Regions from separate parts of the Homo sapiens genome. Here regions 1 and 2 are each linked to region 3. Evidence: promoter capture Hi-C in 16 types of primary human blood cells and fetal thymus (Javierre and others, 2016). All regions are on one chromosome and are shown on one strand. Each heading gives the region's core, a stretch centred on a gene start or on the middle of the fragment in contact. The rest is flanking DNA. Distances are from core to core; before and after follow the strand shown. Region 1 overlaps GJA9 (gap junction protein alpha 9). Region 2 overlaps AKIRIN1 (akirin 1). Region 3 holds the start of MTF1 (metal regulatory transcription factor 1).

Evidence for each region. The method cuts DNA at HindIII sites, captures the fragments that hold promoters and counts their contacts. A CHiCAGO score of 5 or more calls a contact.
Region 1: a contact is called between a fragment that was not itself captured here and the fragment with the promoter of MTF1 in region 3, in 8 of 17 cell types (neutrophils, non-activated CD4 T cells, fetal thymus and 5 more). The highest score is 10.7, in neutrophils.
Region 2: a contact is called between a fragment that was not itself captured here and the fragment with the promoter of MTF1 in region 3, in 1 of 17 cell types (neutrophils). The highest score is 5.5, in neutrophils.

The regions. Positions count from the first base shown.
Region 1 is chr1:38,875,421-38,879,644 of GRCh38, forward strand. It overlaps GJA9 (gap junction protein alpha 9), which reads right to left. Exons shown (of 2, transcript NM_030772.5): 2 at 1-773. The coding sequence starts at 678. It overlaps RRAGC-DT (RRAGC divergent transcript), which reads left to right. Exons shown (of 2, transcript NR_186075.1): 2 at 521-806. All of the region lies in intron 1 of GJA9-MYCBP (GJA9-MYCBP readthrough), which reads right to left. Among named protein-coding and RNA genes, the nearest start is that of GJA9, 4.1 kb to the right of the region's middle. RefSeq lists a silencer at 4,207-4,224. The HindIII fragment of the contact is 8,897 bases long and covers 1-4,224 here.
Region 2 is chr1:38,994,032-38,998,756 of GRCh38, forward strand. AKIRIN1 (akirin 1) reads left to right here. Exons shown (of 5, transcript NM_024595.3): 2 at 4,140-4,280. Among named protein-coding and RNA genes, the nearest start is that of AKIRIN1, 5.1 kb to the left of the region's middle. The HindIII fragment of the contact is 5,767 bases long and covers 1-4,221 here.
Region 3 is chr1:37,856,709-37,860,876 of GRCh38, forward strand. MTF1 (metal regulatory transcription factor 1) reads right to left here and starts at 2,884. Exons shown (of 11, transcript NM_005955.3): 1 at 2,823-2,884; 2 at 543-1,001. The coding sequence starts at 950. It overlaps INPP5B (inositol polyphosphate-5-phosphatase B), which reads right to left. Exons shown (of 24, transcript NM_005540.3): 24 at 3,989-4,168. RefSeq lists a silencer at 2,821-3,150. The HindIII fragment of the contact is 3,574 bases long and covers 2,097-4,168 here.

The DNA of each region.
Region 1 (4,224 bases), core at 185-2,684, 1.0 Mb after region 3:
GTTTAAGAAAAGTGAAATAGTGGCTATAGATTGCATAAATAATAGGAATATTGTCTTTTCTGTTGGTCTTGAGACAAAACAGTCGATTATATTTGGACACGGGTGGCCATGGCACTTAAATAGCGGCTCTAAGTGAAATCCATATAAAAGGTACTGTCCAATCATGAATCCAACTTCAACCACAGAGCGAGTGAAAATGTGTATCACATAAGTGCAAAGCAAGGTTCCTCTGAGTGGAGCTTTATTTAGTTTCCTTTTCTCCAGCTGACAAAGCTCTTGCTCCAATCTCCTCCGATCCCTAGGCATTTCAAACTCTACCTCCTCCAGTTCTACTCTTAACTGAGCTTTCATCCTTTGCCTCTCTTCCTCAAGAACTCTCAGTCGGTACAATGCATGGCCCATGTAGACCAGGGATGGTGAAGACACAAATATCACCTGCAGAACCCAGTATCTAATGAGGGAGATAGGAAAGGCCTGGTCGTAGCATACATTTCTGCAGCCTGGTTGTTCTGTATTGCAGATGAAGCCAGACTGCTCATCATTCCAGACATCTTCAGCTGCTACACCCAGAACAAGCATTCGAAATATGAACAGGATGGTGAGCCAGATCTTTCCAATCATGGTGGAGTGGATGTGAACTTCCTCCAGAGTATCTCCAAGGAGATTCCAGTCCCCCATGTTTATTTAGTCAGCCATCTTAGCTCTGATCCACATCAAATAAGAGGCAGATAAATTCTTCCATTCTGAAGGGAGCACTATTTCTTAAAGCAAACCTATGGTGAAAATATAACAATATGTCACTTCTATATGCTGGTTGCTTTACTTTTTCCCTAGATAGCTGTGGGGTTTTTTCTTTGTTTGTTTGTTTGTTGAGACAGAGTCTCCCTCTGTTGCCCAGGCTGGAGTACAGTGTTGCAACCACAACTCCCTGCAGCCTCAACCTCCCAGACTCAAGCGATCATCTCCCCTCTCAGCCTCCTGAGTAGCTGGGACTGCAGGTGTGTGCAACTACACCCAGATAATTTTTTTTATTTTTTTGTAGAGACAGGGTCTCACTCTATTGCTGCAGCTAGTCTTAAACTCCTAGACTCAAGTGATCCTCTTGCCTTCACCTCCCAAAGTGTGGGAATTACAGGTGTGGGTCACCACACCTGGCCAAAGTGTGAATCTGTTACCAATAATATACTTAAATGTCAGGAATTTAAAATCACTTATATTTAGACATCACAATACAATGAAAAAAACATGATACCTGGAGGAGGAGTGTATATATTCTCTATTAAGAATATAGGCTGGGCGGGGTGGCTCACACCTGTAATCCCAACACTTTGGGAGGCCAAGGTGGGTGGATCATTTGAGGTCAGGAGTTCCAGACCAGCCTGGCCAACATGGTAAAACCCCGCCTCTACTAAAAATACAAAAATTAGCCAGGCGTGGTGGCAGGCGCTTGTAGTCCCAGCTACTCGGGAGGCTGAGGCAAGAGAATCGCTTGAACCTGGAAGGCAGAGGTTGCAGTGAGCTGAGATCAAACCCTTGACCTCAGATGATCTGGCCACCTCGGCCTCCCAAAGTGCTGGGATTACAGGCATGAGCCAATGCGCATGGCCTAAAATTATATTCTTTTTTTTTTTTTTTTTGAGACGGAGTCTCACTCTGTAGCCCAGGCTGGAGTGCAATGGCATGATCTCAGCTCACCGCAACCTCCACCTCCTGGGTTCAAGCGATTCTCCTGCCTCAGCCTCCTGAGTAGCTGTGATTACAGGCATGCACCACCATGCCCGGATAATTTTGTATTTTTAGTAGAGATGATGTTTCTCCATGTTGGCCAGGCTGGTCTCGAACTCCTGACCTCAGGTGATCTGCCCACCTCGGCCTCCCAAAGTGCTGGGATTACAGGCGTGAGCCACCATGCCCAGCCTATTGTTGTTTTTCAACAGAACTTTTGGAAAGGTTTCTAAAACTAGTAACCTGATCTTAACCTTATTTATTAAGATTATTTGATATAAAAGTTATAACAAAGTCAATTTCTTTTTCCCCAACATGCCATTACTGGCTTGAAAAGTCAGTGATTTTTTTTTCTTTCTTTCTTTCTTTTGGGACAGAGTCTTGCTCTGTCGCCAGGCTGGAGTGCAGTGGCGCAATCTCGGCGCATTGCAACCTCCGCCTCCTGGGTTCAAGCGATTCCCCTGCCTCATCCTCCTGAGTAGCTGGGATTACAGGCGCCTGCCAACACCCCCCGGGATAATTTTTTGTATTTTAGTAGACACGGGGTTTCACCATGTTGGCCAGGATGATCTCGATCTCCTGACCTCGTGATCCACCCGCCTCAGCCTCCCAAAGTGCCAGGATTACAGGCATGAGCCACCGTGCCCGGTCAAAAAGTCAGTGATTTTTAAATCTCATTTATACACATAGGAAAACGAATATGCTTCATTTGATAATTCAGTAAGATATGGCATTCAGTGAAACCAGAGGAAACAGATCTGGCTGTCATAGGAATTTAGATTAGTTTTTTTAATCCAAATTGAAATAAATTTGAAATAAATTCTGGTTTCTTCCTGGCAATTGGTGAACATTTTCAGAAATTCATCTCAGTAATATTTATGAATATGTATAAAGTACTTATTATACTTTACTATGAAAAAGTATACTTTTTTTCTTTTTTTTTGGTGGGGGGAGACAGAGTCTCACTCTGTTGCCCAGACTAGAGTGCAGTGGCAGGATCTCAGCCCACTGCAACCTCCACTTCCCAGGTTCAAGTGATTCTCGTGCCTGAGCCTGCCAAGTAGCTGAGACTACAGGCAAGTGCCACCACGCTTGGCTAATTTTTGTATTGTTAGTAGAGACGGGGTTTCACCATGTTGGCCAGGCTGGTCTTGAACTCCTGAACCTTGAGTGATCCACCCGCCTCGGCCTCCCATAGTAAGCCACCGCGCCCAGCCCAAATTTTGTAAATTCTTACGTTAAAATGAACTTCAAGCCCAGCACAGTGGCTCACACCTGTAATCCCAGCACTTTGGGAGGCCGATGCGGATCACCTGAGGTCAGGAGTTCGAGACCAGCCTGGCCAACATGGTGAAACACTGTCTCTACAAAAATACAAAAAATTAGCTGGGTGTGGTGGCAGGCATCTGTAACCCCAGCTACTCAGGAGGCTGAGGCAGGAGAATCACTTGAACCTGGGAGGCAGAGGTTGCGGTGAGCCAAGATCGCGCCATTGCACTCCAGCCTTGGCGACAAGAGCAGAAACTCTGTCTCAGAAAACAAAAAGAACTCCAAAAATTCTCAACTATTTTATGGTACCAGAATCTTTTTTTTTTTTTTTTTTTTGAGACGAAGTTTCCCTCTTGTTGCCCAGGCTGGAGTGCAATGGCACAATCTCGGCTCACCGCAACCTCCACCTCCCAGGTTCAAGTGATTCTCCTGCCCCAGGCTCCAGAGTAGCTGGTATTACAGACATGCGCCACCATGCCCAGCTAATTTTGTATTTTTAGTAGAGATGGGGTTCCTCCATATTGGTCAGGCTAGTTTCGAACTCCCAACCTCAGGTGATCCACCTGCCTCGGCCTCCCAAAGTGCTGGGATTACAGGCGTGAGCCACTGCGCCCGGCCTTATGGTACCAGAATCTCATTATAGATATTACTTGCAATAGATTGTTCACTGGTATGGTGGCAGTATTATGGAAACTTTCACTGTAGCAGTATTTGACCTATTTAAGACATATAGCTGCTCTCTTGAAGGAAGCAGTGGGGCAAGTTATAATTTAGCTGCTTGGATTATTTGCCGGCAGATTGCATATTAAGGTTGGTATCCCAGGTTATCTCAGAGGAAATATACCCCAAAGGAAAGATTTTAAAAGTGAATATTTTCATTATTTTTCATTTAAAATATAAATGTATGTCCTGTCCCCTTTATATAAAGGGAACTGTTACACAATCAAACAAACTACTAAGATACAAGATGTGTTCATCACTAAAATCCTATGCGGTAAGTATGTTGTTTCCCCCATCTTACAGATGAGGAAACGGAAGCACACCTTAATTTACCTGAGGTCACACAGCTGGAGCTGGCATTCAAACCCAATCATTGTGGCTTTAGAGTCAGCTCCTTAAATTTTTTACTAAACTATTATTTTTCCTCTGTAAGCAAACTTCAAATTTGCCGGAAAGAAACATTAAGAGATTATCTGTTTTCTCTTAAGTTTAATCATTTAAATTTAGGAA
Region 2 (4,725 bases), core at 88-2,587, 1.1 Mb after region 3:
TGCACTCCATCCTGGGTGACAAGAGTGAAACTCCATCTCAAAAAAAAAAAAAAGCTAAAAAATTAGCTGGGCAATTTTTCTGAAATCCGAAATGCTGCAAAGTCTGAACTGATCCAAAAATTGAGTGTCAATATGACACTCAAAGGAAATACTTATTCACTGGAGTTTTTCTCATTTGGGGTAAGGGATGTTCAATTGGTAAGTATAATGCAACTATTCCACAATCCAAAACTTCTGTCTCAAGCATTTTGGATGAGGGATGCTCAATCTGTATGGTACTTTTTGTGGAAAGGTCCTGTAAAACTAAGCCTTTTATTGCTTAAATCTTTATTGAGTGCTAGGTGAATTCCAGACATGGAAGAAGGGGGTTGCTGACCGCAGGAAATATTTGTAAACGTAATGTGCAAAGCAATTAACTGATTATGACTTGAGAGTCTGAGAATAACTTCTGAATTAAGGTAGCATTTTAGCTGAGTCTTTTTTTGTTGTTTTTTGAGACAGAGTCACTCTGTTGCCCAGGCTGGAGTGTAGTGGCACGATCTTGGCTCACTGCAACCGCCGTCTCCCATGTTCAAGCGATTCTCCTGCCTCAGCCTCCCCAGTGGCTGGGATTACAGGCATGTGTCACTACGCTCGGCTAATTTTTTTTTTTTTTTTTTTTTTTTTTTTTTTTTTGAGATGACGTTTCGCTCTTGTTGCCCAGGCTGGAGTGCAGTAGCATGATCTCGGCTCACTGCAACTTCCACCTCCCAGACTCAAGCGATTCTCCTGCCTTAGCCTCCCAGAACGCTGGGATTACAGGCGCATGCCACCATTCTCAGCTAATTTTTGTATTTTTAGTGGAGATAGGGTTTCATCATACTGGTCAGGCTGGTCTCAAACACCTGACCTCAGGTGATCCGCCTGCCTCAGACTCCCAAAGTGCTGGGATTACAGGCATGAGCCACCACACCCGGCCTACTAATTTTTGTATTTTTTTTGTCAAGACAGGGTTTCACTGTATTGGCCAAGCTGGTCTCAAACTCCTGACCTCAGGTGATCTGCCCGCCTCGGCCTCCCAAAGTGCTGGGATTGCATGAGCCACTGCGCCTGGCTAGCTGAGTCTTGATCAAGTTTGAGCAATAGTCCCATTTCGAGCACAGGGAAACCATGAGAGCAAAGTCCAAAAAACCCACAATTTAAGGAGAGAATAATGTAATGTAACTAAATTATAGTGGAATCCAGATGGAACCAGGAAAATAAATTGAGGCCACATCTTGGAAAGTATTGACTGCCATGTTCAAGAGTTTGAATTTTGGTTTGTAGCAGTAGGAACACTGTAGAGTTTGGAGGATGGGCTTAGACCGGAAAAAATCTGGCAGCACAACCTCAAGTAATGGAGGGAAGGATTAAAATTATCCACTGTTAAAAAGAAATTTGAGTTTTTCTTTTTAAAAAAATTTTGTGCTTTATATGGCCTTCTACAGAAGAAAATCATGTCTAACTTTCTTATTTTTCTCCCATGGATACCGTGTTTAGATTCTTGGACTTCTTAGTCCTACCACCCTCAAAATTGTATCTTTCCATTTGTTAACATTGCCATACAGGAGGCAGAGGTTTATCAAAGACCTTCTGTTCTCTTAAGCGTTGTCCTCATACTTGTCCTTTCTTGTTTCAAGTATTTGCAGTTCTTATCCTTGTATTGGCTCTGGCTTGAGGAATAAGACATCTTAAAATACAGGGGGCTAGCGGTGGCTCACGCCTGTATTCCCAGCACTTTGGGAGGCCGAGGCGGGCGGATCAGCTGAGGTCAGGAGTTTGAGACCAGCCTGGCCAACATTGTGAAACTCTGTCTCTACTAAAAATACAAAAAATTAGGTGGGTGTGGTGGCGGGCTCCTGAAATCCAAACTACTCTGGAGGCTGAGGCAGGAGAATTGCTTGAACCTGGGAGGTAGAGGTTGCAGTGAACTGAGATTGTGCTATTGCACTACAGCCTGGGCGACAGGGTAAGACTCTCTTAAAAAATAAAGTGAGGTGAAAACTTAATAAATTCAGGAATCTAAAATACAAACTTCATAGCACTGTTTTGTTTTGTTTTTTGAGACAGTGTCTTACTCTGTTGCCCAGGCTGGAGTCCAATGGGGTGATCTCGGCTCACTGCAATCTCCACCTCCTGGGTTGAAGCAATTCTCCTGCCTCAGCCTCCCAAGTAGCTGGGATTACAGGTGCGCACCACCATGCCCAGCTAATTTTTGTATTTTTAGTAGAGATGGTTTCGCCATGTTGGTCAGGCTGGTCTCGAACCTCAGGTGATCCACCTGCCTAGGCCTCCCAAAGTGCTGGGATTACAGGCGTGAGCCACCATGTACAGGCTTTTTTTCTTTTTTTTAATACTGGGTCTCGTTATGTTGCCCAGGCTGGCCTCAAGTGATCCTCCCACCTTGGCCTTCCAAAGTGCTGGATTACAGGCATGAGCCACAGTGCCTGGCCCATAGCACTCTTGTTTTTTTGTTTTGTTTTTCTATTTTTTTTTTGAGGCAGAGTCTTGATTGTGTTTCCCAGGCTGGAGTGCAGTGGCACAATCTCGGCTCAGTGCAACCTCCACCTCCCCGGTTCAAGAGATTCTCCTGCCTCAGCTTCCTGAGTAGCTGGGACTACAGGCACGTGCCACCACGCCTGGCTAAATTTTTTTATTTTTAGTAGAGACGGTGTTTCACCATGTTAGCCAAGATAGTCTCGATTTCATGACCTTGTGATCTGCCTGCCTCAGCCTCCCAAAGTGCTGGGATTACAGGCATAAGCCACCATACCCAGCTGGCCCATAACACTCTTAAAGCATCTCCTACATTGTTCTAGTATTTAGGCTGAAAGTTAGGGACTTTGACTATGTGTGGAACCACTTGAATTCATGTCAGTTCCTGGACTGTACTGTCACTTGTTATGACATTATTGTTACCTTTAGTTTTTATTTTTACAACCTTATCAGGTAGGTATTTAATGTTTACATTGAAGAAGTAAAGATCCTGAATAACTTCTCAAGGTTATAGTCACACAGCTAGTAAGAAGCAAAGTGGCATTGTTAATACCTCCCACCATTAAAAAAAAAAAGGTGGTTATAGCAAAGTATACACTAGAATAATTTGAGTTGTTTGAGATGGATACAGGTATCTCTTTTTTTAAATTAGTAGGTACAAACAAAGAACTTGAAAACCACATCCTTTTAGATTCTTTGTTGTTTCTAGGAGTGTATTTCAAGGTGGTTAGTAATTTGTGTTTCCTGGGCTCCCTTTAATAGTGTTAGCAAATTTGCTTTGTGATTACCTTGACTTATAATCTCCCCACACACTGAGTTGCCTCTTAGGATCAGAAAATTATTTTCTAAGCCCTGACCATCACTTCTAGGCATTAAATCTCAGTTCTTTCCTTGGTCGATGTCCACACTGTAAACATAATGGTTTCTGCTGCCCCCTTTCCCAAAGTTTATTTTGATTTGTTTTTTAGATAAATCACCCAGGCTCCCTTGTGGTTTTTTTTTGAGACGAGATTTTGCTGTGTTGTTCAGGCTAGTCTCCTGGGCTCAAGGGATCCTCCCGCCTCCCCCTGCAGAGTAGCTGGGATTACACCCAGCTTTGGAGCCACCACTTCCAGCTCCAAAGATGCTTTTTTAAAGTCCCATATGGGACAAGAGCTTCCTTGTTAGAAGGTCTTGGGCAGTATGAGACTCACCCCTTAATACCCTAGGTTGTGAAATTGCGAAATTTAAAGGAGATTAAAAAATAATCCCTGTTAGGTAAACAGAGGTTTCTTTTACTGTAAATTGTACTAGTTAACCATCCAGCTAACTGCAGATCTTGTGTTCTTTGCCACAGGAAAACAAGTAAAGGGAACTCTGTCTGGTTTATGCCAAAGTAGCTATTCTTTTATGCATTGTTGAAATAGTGGCAATAAGAACATACTGTCTTTGAAGCCACTGGGGAGTGCTTGGTACGGTATAAACGTTTTGCTTGTTTATGTCGGGGGAGGGGGAGATTGAGACCTACATGCCAAAGGGAGTATCTAAAGTCTAGTCAGAAGATCTTTGTCTCTTCCCACTTCTGAAGAAAGTTTGAAGAAATGAGACAATAAAGTGAAAGCTCAAGTTTGTTTCTTTTTTATTAGAGCAAATTTTTCAGAACATAAAACAAGAATATAGTCGTTATCAGAGGTGGAGACATTTAGAAGTTGTTCTTAATCAGAGTGAAGCTTGTGCTTCGGAAAGTCAACCTCACTCCTCAGCACTCACAGCACCTAGCTCTCCAGGTAAGCCCACTTTGATCTGCAAAATTCGCATTAAGAGTTTGTAAATGGTACTTATAATGATGAATCTAGAATTGGCCTCCTCTAATGTAATAGAATTGCTAACGGGGATGTATTAATATTTACAGATATTTTTAAAACTATACAGTCATGAAATTGGAAGAAACCTCACATTGATTTGATGTGCTTCCATCCACCCAATACAAGAATATCTTCCTGTATAACTGCAATGTGTAATATTGTAGCCAGGGTGCAATAAATAGCCACATGTGGGCTATTTAATTTTAAACTAATTAAAATTAGATAAAATTTTGGCCGGCTGAGGTGGCTCATGCCTGTAATCCTAGCACTTTGGGAGGCTGAGGCAGGCGGATCTCCTGAGGTCAAGAGTTCAAGACCGGCCTGGCCAACATGGCAAAACCTCATCTCTACTAAAAATACAAAAAAA
Region 3 (4,168 bases), core at 1,634-4,133:
AGGCTGCTCTCGAACTCCTGACCTCAAATGATCCACCCGCCTCAGCCTCCCAAAGTGCTGGGATTACAGGCGTGTGCCACTGTGAAATAAAAGTTCATTAAACATTCACTAAGATAATAAAACATATTCCAGCAGATACTCATCTCTAAAACAAATCATTTAAACACAACCAGGAGATAAGCCAAATATAGTTATTTCTTCATCAAATAAGCAAACTCCAGTTATTTCCCTGTAGATAAGCTAAATAGTTATTTTAGCACCAGAAACATGGGTCTACTTAAGTGAAATTTCTGTTTTATTTATGATTTGGGGAAGGAAATTCGAGAAATTACAATTTGATATTCCCAAATTTCAATGTGGCTATACAAACCAAAAGTTCCAGAAGCAATCACAACAAAACCTGAGGCATATGTTGTTGATAGCAAAACTACTTAAGTCCTAACCCCATGCACTCCTTTACTCCCCAGCTAAAATTTGCACCAAGAATTTTGTAAGGACTTGCCCCAAAACCAAACTAGGCCCTCACTGACTGCTTTACTTACTTCTTTACGTTTTGTTTCCGGACATTCCGACTGCAGAGTGAGGGTTGCACCTTCAATATTTCTTGGCATGGGTGTGGAACCAGGGTTTATTGTCAAATGAATCTGATCTGGTGAGATAATGTGCTGCACATAACCCTGGGACATTGCTTCATGATCTATCAGGTGAAAGCCCTCTTCACCCCCTACTAGAAAAGGCAAGTGTTCTCCGCACTGTCCGTCGTCATCTTCATCCTCCAAAGTGCCAGGGTCCTGCTCAATAAGAACAGTGGTCCTATCATAAACAGTTCCAGATGAGGAAGGCACCAGTCCGTTTTTATCCACAAACCTGAGCATTTTATCATCGGGGGTCAGCTCATCTTCCTCTGCCTCAAAGTAGATGATGTTGTTGTCTGGACTGTGTTCCCCCATGGTTCAGTTGTGCTCAGCCCAGTTGTGAGAAATGAAAACGTAATGACTTGTCTGCAACAGAACAAAGCCAGAGTTAGAGTCATACCACAAGACCGACGGACCTCCTCAGCAACCACAAGGCTCATTTTCCCTCTCACTTAAAGAGCAAGCCAAAGCAAATGAAAAACCATCCTTGGGAATAATTTTTTTATTTTAACTTTAAAACCATCAAGTCATTTTTAAAGAAAAGCAATGCCGACTGGGCGTGGTGGCTCACACCTGTAATCCCAACACTTTGGGAGGCTAAGATGGGAGGATCGCTTGAGGCCAGGAGTTTGAGATCAGCCTGGTCAACATAGTGAGACCCCCATCTCTAATAAAAAAAAAAAAAAAAGAAAAAGAAAGAAAAGCAATGCTTTTCAAAAACTGAATAAGTTCATAAGACCTTCTGAATACGCCTGTCAAACAATTTGAAACTTGGTCAAAATATTTAAAGGGGACAAAAGAGCAAACAGAACAGCAGCTGCTGAAAGGCTGAGTTGCTACAAATCTTAAGGGAAACTCCATCCATTCAAATATCCTCCAAATCAGACCACGAGGCAGTAAATGGTTTCATGCAGTTTATGGTAGAAGGAGCAAGGCTTTGGAGGCAGAGTCATCTACCTACAAATCCTGTCTTTGCCTTTTACTACATGGGTAACTTTTCTGTGCCTCATTTTTCTTACGTGCAAGGTGGGACCAGTAATTCCTGTTCTCTCAAAGTTTTTATAAGAAATAAAAGAGGCAACATATGTAAAGCACAATGTTTGGTAAATAGTAGAGGAACAAGTATGAATTCCTTCCCCCCTACCTAGAACAGATGTTTCAACCTTCTGGGTGGAAGGGCTATTCCTCAATCAGGCACAAACAACGAAGATCACTGTATCTATTTATGTCCTAAAACAATATGGTGTCAACAAGAAGTTATGGTTCTGTGGTGGGCTCTCGTCCCTGAATCAATTGAGTCTTATTATTTTTGTTTCTACAGCTCCTAGCATAGTACACTGATACTATGATAAGAGTTCAGGAAATGTCAGCTAAATGACTGAAAGACATGGCTACCTACTCTCTCGTGAAGATATACTATCTTGGGAAGATACATTCTCTTGAGAAAAATACCACATTTGAAGCTTTCATGTTCTGGAATAGTGATTCTTCCTTCATCTGCAAACACAGGCTCTACAAATGTGGGTTTGGCAGGCAGAATAGAGAATTTTAAAATAATCAGCACATCCCTTTTAGTTTTCAGTCTGGCTTTGCGCTTTATCTTTCTCTTCTGCTCTGGGTTAGAAAGTGAGCCTTTACTTAGTGGGATGGCTAGACAGTTACCAGAGACAGGCCAAAGGATTGGATCCGGGAGGTACCGGCCCGACCCCTAGCTCTGGCTTACGCAACCCCACAGATGTACATTTCGCTGCATCTGAGCAGAGAGAGAAGAGCACCGAGGGCCCCAGTGGGCTGCCCCGGCACCCTCGGCGGCAACGCGGAGACCAACTGTCCGAAACAAACAAGACCAGGAGGTTTGAGGGTAGCCAACGAGGAGTGCGAACAGAGCCCCCTTGAGAGGAGGCTGGGAAAAGGAACCTGTCTGGGATAGCCCCCAGCACAGGGCTACACAGAAAAATCCGAAGACAAGCTGGGGGTCTCCAAGCAAGGAGGAGAGGGGCAGGGTCCGGGTCTCCATGGAAACAGGGAAGGGGGGCTGGATACCCATCCCCATGGAAACGGAGAAGGGGTGGGGTCCCTATGGTGACCAAACTGAGGTCTCTATTGGGAAATGCTTCAGGAGGGAGCCTAAGTCCCGCGCCTCCCGGTAAGTCCCAAGCCCAGGCCGAGTCTAGTTTCGCCTTTTACCTCCGCGGCTCCCGGCAACGGCGGCAGCAGCAGCTTCTCCCCTCCCCAGCGGCACCATGATTGCCCCCACCTTCCCCTAACGTCACTTCCGCTTCCTCTTTCCGGAGGAAGGTGGGGACAGAGGATCCGCCCCTCCCTGGCGCCTCTGGTTGGCTCAGGTTGTCAGGGGGCTGAGCTGCAGCCTCCAATTGGCGAGCGGGGCACCGAGGGGAAGGCGCCCAGGAGGTGGGTTCATCCGCGTGGGGAAGCGCCCGGGGTGGCCACGCGGGGCCCGGAGGGTGTCGCCCTCGCGGCACCGGAGTCAAGGAGAAGGGAACGAATCCCCAAGGAAGAATCCGAAATGTCCTCAGCCAGGTTTGCGCTGACCGCCCTCGCCCTGGCAGCCACAGCCGCAGCGGGAAGGACCACAGTTGGCAGTCAGAACCCTGGCTCCAACCCGCCAGGGGAGCCTGGACGGCCGCGACGTTCCCGGGTTTCTCCTGCCGGGACCCCGGCCTTCCCTTCAGCACCCATCAAAGTTAACACAGGCAGGAGGCCCAGAAAGGAAGACAAGACCCCAAAGGCAGAACTAAGAGTATTCTAAGCCCAGCTGGAGAGGACGCCGCCGCCTCTTCCCCTTCTCACGCGCTTGCCTAGGACCCCCAGCTCCCTTCTCACGCGCTTGCCCAGGCTGGCGGTCCCAACTTTCTTCCCCTGCAAGAGGACGCGGCTACGGCGGGACTCATGCCCGGGCCAGTTAGCGCCACCTACCGGCCACTCCCTTCCTTTCACCGTTCACATTGTCCTGCTGGCCCGCGTCTTAAACCCATTTCACAGTGCCCAGAAGTAGTGGGCATTCGTACCCAGGAAGCGATTCTGCCTTCGTTATGCCCCTGTCCTTTCCAAATGCCTGGAGGATCTAGCTGTTAGATCCTCCCAGCTGCCACTGCCTGTTTTAACCATAAGCTGCTTCTCTCGAATATTCAGAGTGGGACAACTCCAAAGACCAGACCAGGGGTCAAGGGGTTCAGGTCAGTGCCATAACCATTTCTTGCTGGAAGTATGTGAATAGTGACTGGTACCCACCAGACTGCCAGGAATATGTCTCTTTGGCCCCAAGGCTTGAGCCACAAAATCCAGCTGCAGCGAACTGCCATCTCTTAAGACATAAAAACATACACAACCGCCACTGTTAAAAATACATTTATCATTAAAATATATTACACATGGAGACAGGATGCATCATATACAGTTTGGAAGACTTGCTGGCCCAGAAAATCCCACTTGTTTCACCGAACACTCATTTTTTCAGTGATTTTACATTTTATTTTTAGAGACGGGGTCTCCCTCTCTCACCCGGGCTGGCG